Regions from separate parts of the Homo sapiens genome. Here region 2 is linked to region 1. The links are contacts of gene promoters, found by promoter capture Hi-C in human tissues and cell types (Jung and others, 2019). All regions are on one chromosome and are shown on one strand. Each heading gives the region's core, a stretch centred on a gene start or on the middle of the fragment in contact. The rest is flanking DNA. Distances are from core to core; before and after follow the strand shown.

The links. Contacts are between HindIII fragments. The study calls those that stand out against the background at their distance.
Region 2: a fragment that was not itself captured here is called in contact with the fragment with the promoter of DUSP15 in region 1 in 5 of the 25 tissues and cell types used here (H1 embryonic stem cells, IMR-90 fibroblasts, aorta and 2 more).

Annotation. Positions count from the first base shown.
Region 1 is chr20:31,868,796-31,871,993 of GRCh38, reverse strand. DUSP15 (dual specificity phosphatase 15) reads left to right here and starts at 1,467. Exons shown (of 7, transcript NM_080611.5): 1 at 1,467-1,677; 2 at 2,397-2,430. The coding sequence starts at 1,657. TTLL9 (tubulin tyrosine ligase like 9) reads right to left here and starts at 1,360. Exons shown (of 15, transcript NM_001008409.5): 1 at 1,045-1,360; 2 at 799-872. The coding sequence starts at 867. RefSeq lists silencers at 1,431-1,530, 1,551-1,820. The HindIII fragment of the contact is 13,568 bases long and covers 1-3,198 here.
Region 2 is chr20:31,970,273-31,973,470 of GRCh38, reverse strand. The region is part of intron 1 of XKR7 (XK related 7); the gene reads right to left. Among named protein-coding and RNA genes, the nearest start is that of XKR7, 3.7 kb to the right of the region's middle. RefSeq lists enhancers at 394-893, 894-1,395 and a silencer at 1,011-1,305. The HindIII fragment of the contact is 4,685 bases long and covers 1-3,198 here.

The DNA.
Region 1 (3,198 bases), core at 218-2,717:
ATAGTTAATACAATTTAAAAAGGATATAAAATATCTCATTTATAGTTTTAAAATACTGACTATATGTTGAAATGATATTTTGGATATATTGAGTTAAATAAAAATATTATCAACAATTAACTTGTTTCTACTTTTTAAATGTGGCTGCACATGTGGCTGGCATTATATTTCATTTGGACAATGCTGGTCTATACCATTAGCTAATGAAGGTAGGAACAATCTCTACCCACTGCTGTGTCCCTAGTCTCTATCATATACTAGATGCTCAGTAAGTATTTACTGAATAATTTGGTATTTATGAGAACTCTGGGCTTTTATGAGAGCTGAGACGGGCAGCCCCATGTATGCTATGAACTTGAGGGAGGAAGAAACAGTTTTATTTTTCTCCAATCACTGTATTTCAAAGGGCTCTGTGGATTCTCTCTGTCCTGCTCTCTATCCACAATCCCCAGTCACCTACTACTATAGATTGAGGGGTGGGGGTGATGGCTGAAGGAACAAAGCTGGTGCAGCTGCTTCTATTTCAGTCCTATAGGAAGTGTCTTGATTATTTTACATTCTCCAGCTTTGGTCCTAGAAGCCAGGAAGGGCTCACCTCAACATCCTCAGAAACACAGATAGGGTTAGCTGGGGGTCACGGGGACTTTCCCAGGGTCATCTAGCAGGTCAGAGGTGAACAGGGCCTCAAACCTTGGTCTCCAGACCCCTTCCAGGACCCTGACCTCTAGCTATTAATACATCCTGATGTAGTCTCCTTCAGACTGGAACCCTCCCTCAAACCCCTCTCCCAACATTCACCTGTAATTTCTTGGGGCACCTAATGGCAGTTGTGCCTGGTCCCAGCAGAGCTTCCCTGGATGGCACCATCCCTCCTAGGGGCCGAAATGGATGGAAGGAAGGAGTGAGAGGATGGATGAATGGATGGGAAGATGGACGAGTGAATGAGTGAACAGGAGGGTGGGAGAATGGATGGGAAAGGAGGAAGGCTGGTTGGTAGGGTGTCTCTGCACGGGTGGAGAGGATGTATCGGAAGGAATTACCCACTTATCCCGTTCCAAGCAGACTCTGAAGAGCAGAGAGCCCTCGGCGATCAAAGTCCAGCCCCGTCACGTTTCTGCTAGAAGCCGAGGCGGGAGAAGTTGGGTGCTTTCCCCCGGGGCCCGCAGGGACGTCCAGGCAGAGCCGGAAGGGGGACGGGAGTTTGTGGGCCGGCCGGGGGGCTCTAGGCGACATCCCCCCATCCGCCCGCGCCTGCCGGTGCCAGGGTGGGGTAAGGCCCCCGCCCCCACCTCCGGAGGTGGCGGCCCCACGCGGCCCCAACAAACTGCCGTTGTCCCGCGGGCCGTGGGCCCGGCACACTGGGGCTTTGTCCGGCCCCCCGCCGCGACCCGAGGCGGGGGCCCCACATGACCGAAGGGGTAGGAGGAGCCTGCGGCGGCGGCGGTGGCAGCGGCGGCTCCACCACCATTTCCCTCCCGGGCCGGGGGTCGGCGGGCGGTGGCGGTGGCTGGGCAGGGCTGGGCAGGGCCGCGGACGCCAGGCCCCCCGTTCCCCGCCAGGCTGCAGGCGTCGGGCCTGGGCCGTCAGGGCAGCTGTGACCGGATCGCTTCCCGGGCGGCGAGCTGGGGGTGCACCCGGACCGCCGCCCCCGGGATCATGGGCAATGGCATGACCAAGGTAGGGGGCGGGCCCCGCGCAGCCTCCCCGGTCCCCGCCCCGGCCGCCGCGGCCCGGCGCTGACCAGCTCGGTCCGCCCGCCTCTGACCTTCTGTTCTCGCCGGTCTCCGTGCGGCGGCATCTCCGTGTCCCTGTGACTCGAGACCGCGGCTGTCGGGTCTCCCCCTCTCTGACCCTGCGTCTCTGTCCCCGCTGTGTCCGCCCTCTCTCCGTGACTCTGTGTGTCTCTCGCTGTCTTGCTGTGGCTGTCACTCCCAGGCTGTCTCCCAGTGAGTCCTGCTCTCCGTCTGCATGTGTCCCTCTCCCTTGTCGCTGACTCCTCGGCTCTCTCCGGGGCTGTTTCTCCATCCTGTCCCGCCTCTGCCTGTCATTGCCTTTCTGCCTCCCCAGCCCCAGAATTTCCATCCCTGCACCCTGCAAGTCTACCTCTCTCCTCTCCTCTCCTCCTAAGACCTGCCTTCCTCCTCTCCCCTCTCATACCCAAGCTGGCCTCCCTTGGTTCCCTCGGTTGGTTAACTGGCCCCCTAGCCTACCCTCCCCAGAGCCCCAGACCCCTCTCACAGAGGACTCAGGGCCCACAAAAGGGAAGAGAGTGCTCCCTGAGCCCTGAGGTCCATACCCTTCATGGGACAGAGAGGGGCTGTGGGCCCCCCAGCTGCCCTGGGGGTGGAAGGGGGTGCAGCCCCTGCCCCACTGACCCTTGCCTGTCCTTCCTCTAGGTACTTCCTGGACTCTACCTCGGAAACTTCATTGGTGAGCACTGCCCACTCTGTCCCGAGGCCATGGCACTCTGCCTGTCTCAGGCCTGTGTCCACCATTCATGCCCTGGCCCATGCATCTCAGGAATGGGGTTGGGGGCAGGGAAGCGGCCCCAGGCTGGGAGGGGGAAAAGGCTGATGGAGGACAAGGGGTGCACATGCAGGCGAGTGTCCCCAGGCTTGAAGGGACATGGAGGGAGCATGGGGGCCTGACACTGACATCCCTCCCCGCCATTCAGCCTTCCCCAGTGTTCTACCACCAGACCAAAGGGCCAGAGCAAAGGGCTCGGGGCCTGGGCTGTGGACCTGAGCAAGTCTACACCTGCGCTAAGCCTCAGCCTCCTCCTCAGCACAAAAGGTCCACCAGCTGCTGAGCACTCTTCTGGCCCTGAGGTTCTGGGTTGAGGTCTGTTTGCGGGTGCTGCTTCTAGCGGGGAAGCTGGGAACTCTTCCCCCCATAACTTCCTCCTTGTCAGAGGAGAGGTCCCTGGAGATGGGCTGGGCCTTCTTGTGAGCAGGGTCATGAGCACCAACACTGTCGCACCCCAGAGCCCTGGAGCAGCTGGGCAGCCTAGAGCTGGAAGTTGGGGGGGCGGTGAGCCGGCAAGCTTTGCATTCCCCACTCTCTCATCCATTCCTTCCACAATCTTCAGTCAGGAGGAGGGGACACCCATGTATAGATACCTTGTTCTTCAGGGGCTTCCAGGCTGGTGGCAGGCAGGCAGAGCTGAACATAGACCTTGGGTAGAAAACATGCTGGGTA
Region 2 (3,198 bases), core at 209-2,708, 100 kb before region 1:
AGGTATTATATATCCCATATAATATATATCATAGTTTATTTTCTTATTGGTTCCTTCATTAGGCTATTGAGCTCCAAGAGGGCAAGGACTTTGTCTTGTTCACCACTCTATTCCCAGCACTTAGAACAGTGCCTGGTATACAGCAGGTGCTTAATAAATGTCTGCTGAATGAATGACTGCAGATTAAATGAATGACTGCCATGTCATTATGGCTTCAAGGGACTTCAGGACCCCCTTGCTGTCCTGCCATGTGCTCCGTGAACAAAGCTTTGTTCCACAGGGAGCAAAGCCCAAGCTAATGCACTAATCATTGCCAGCAGTTTCTGAGCATTTAACGATGGAATGAGCCCTTTGCTGAACCCTTACACATTATCTCATTAAACCTTGAAACAACCTAAGAGGCGGGTGGGTACAATTTTGGTCCCTAGTTTACAACGGATGAGAGATTATTTGCCTTGTCAAGGTCACATATAAGAAGTAGTAAAGTCTGGATTTAAACTGAGGACACTTGAATCTAGAGTCCGTGCTCTCAACCCTCTCAACCGTTATGCCAAGAATGTAGTTTCCCAGAGGGGAAATCCAGAGCCTGACATTTCCTTCCAATAGGTCACTAACTCATTCCAGAACTTCTCTGTCATGCAGGGCTTCTTAGGTGACATAGAGTGCAGTGTCTGGGCCTATGCATAGAGAGGGCATTAGAGGGAGGGCCCCTAAATCCCAATTGCCTAATTTTCTCCCCATTTTGGGGTTCCCAGATCCCGAAAGCCTGGCAGGAATCCCATGTCAGATCGTCTCCCACTAATTGGCTTAGCAAACCATGCTTATCTGGGTGAAGCTGGGGCCCACTGAGCTCAAGATTAGGAAAAGCAGGATTCATGGCTTACTGCTCTGCTGCCTACAGGGTCAGAGGGGACAGGGTTAGGACTTTAATTAGCTTAAGAACCCTGGGCAGTTTAACAGCTCAGAGAGTTTAAAGGGAAGGGAGGGATGAAGTTGCAGGTTGGTGTCCAGGCCACAGCCAGCTTCGTGCCCCGCCAGAGGATCTGTTTGCTGTTCCCTCAGAGTTCAATCTCTCTGTGCACAAAGATATTGTTCTGGCATGTCCCAAAGTAGCCAGTGTGTGGTGTAAAAGATAGAGCTAGGTTTGGGACTGATCACCTTTCCTCACTTCCTCAGTGGGTGACTTTTGGACAAGGTTCCTTATCTGATAAATGGGTATATCAATAGTCACCAGGGGGGAGGGTTTCAGAGTAACATGAGATCACATGCCTGAAACACTCACACAGGGCCTGTGGGGACACGGTAGGTGTGCAGTGTCTGTGTATGCTTTCTCCTCCTCTCTCTCTTCAGAGCTTCATTTTATGTTTAAATTAGTAATAAAATCTTCTGTGTGAAAAGACCTTATCAATTTGAAGAGCTAAACCAGAGGTTACAAAGAAGACAGGCTAATAAATATGTTTCCTTTGGTTGACACTATTTTTAAACATTTTAATTAGTAGTTAAATTTTGGAGAGTTCACGGAAAAATCCCAATTTCCCATTTCTCTTGAGAAATCAAGACTGGGTCCACGATTTCTCATGGCATGATCAGCTGGAGCTTCCCTTTTCCTCGGACACTACTTGCCCCTGAATGTCCTCTTGTCTGACACCCCTTGTATCTTATGGTCTTATGGTCTGTTACCTGCCTGGGTCCTCAAAGCATTTGAATTTTTAATTCAGGATTTTACAAGTCTAAGAGGTTGAAAAATATCTTCATGATTATAATTATTTTATTCAGAATTGAGGAAATGGGATCAGGAGGTGAGTGACTGCCTAGCCTCCCAGGTGTGATTCTGGAGGACTCAATCACACATCTCCCTCTTCATTACCCCAGGCCCCACCACTCAGAACATCTGTGGGAACATCTCACGTGGTAAGCAAATGTGCTGGGCCAACATTGCTTAATTTCTAGGAATGCCAGCCCCTGCAGCTTCTCTATACCTTCTCTGGGTTTTCCCTCCATTTATCCAGGCCCTTAGCCATTTTAGAATCCAAAGATTTTGGGGGCAAGGGCCCAGAGGCTTTTGCTTTGGCAATAGACCCAGAGTCAGAATTTCAGGAATGGGAAACTCTTAAGGTCATCACATTGAATCTCATTTCACACACAGGGAAACCGAGACCCAAAGATGGAAAGAGCCTTGCCCAAGGTCACCCAGCAAACTATAGTTACAAACTAGGATAAAGATGTCAGCCTCCTGACCAGACCACCCCCGAATCCAGCCTTTTCCCCACAATACACACTGTTCCCGTCCTCACCCACATAGTTCAACTCCCTGCCCCTCTTTTCACATTCTTATCTCAGTGCAACAGAAGCCCTGACTTTCTATCATACTGGAATCTTGGAATCTCAGATTCATACTTCTTTAAGCTTGAGGGACACTTTAGTGGCAGAATTACAAGGTGGATAAATTGAACTCAGGCTTTAAAGGCAGAGAGCCTGGAGTCTCAGCTCTTCAAGTTCCTAGCTGTGTGACCTTGGACAAGGATGCCCCCTCTCTGAGCCTCCATTCCCTCATCTGTCAAGTAGAAATTATAATGCTAACCACATGACAGGATGATTAGAAGGGGTACAGGAAATAAAGCAGGTAAAAAGGCAACCAGTAGGCTTGGCACAAAGTCAGTGTTTAATAAAATAATTGTTATAGAACTGTAAATTAGGGCTTTCATGTCTAAGTGAAATAGTACAGATATGATCAAAGGGAAAGATGGACAAATTAGAGCACATAGACTCTTTCTAAATTGTTACAGGATTGATACTGCTAGATCCAATTTTTTTAAAGGGAAGCTACGACTCTGGGTTTTTAAAATACTATGCAAGCCACACAAAACACTTCCACAAGCCACATTCAACCTAAGAGCTATTAGATTGTTATCCCTACAAACTTATCTCATCCCAGCCTCCTCATTTTGCAAATGGGAGATAGTAGAAATAGCTAGTCCTTTTATCCATATCCAAGAAACCATAGAGCTGAGGGGATCCTTAGCAATTCTAGCTACTCCCCTGGGACCCCACACCCATGGCCATTTTTGCCCTATTTGAGGGAAACTCAGTTTATGCTTAACAAAGAAGAGAAGTATTAGTTTCTTGTAAGTGGATTCTGAATGGGGGGATAGCCAGTGAGTCGAGGGGCATCTGGCCCACTTTAGGCTGAAGGAAAAG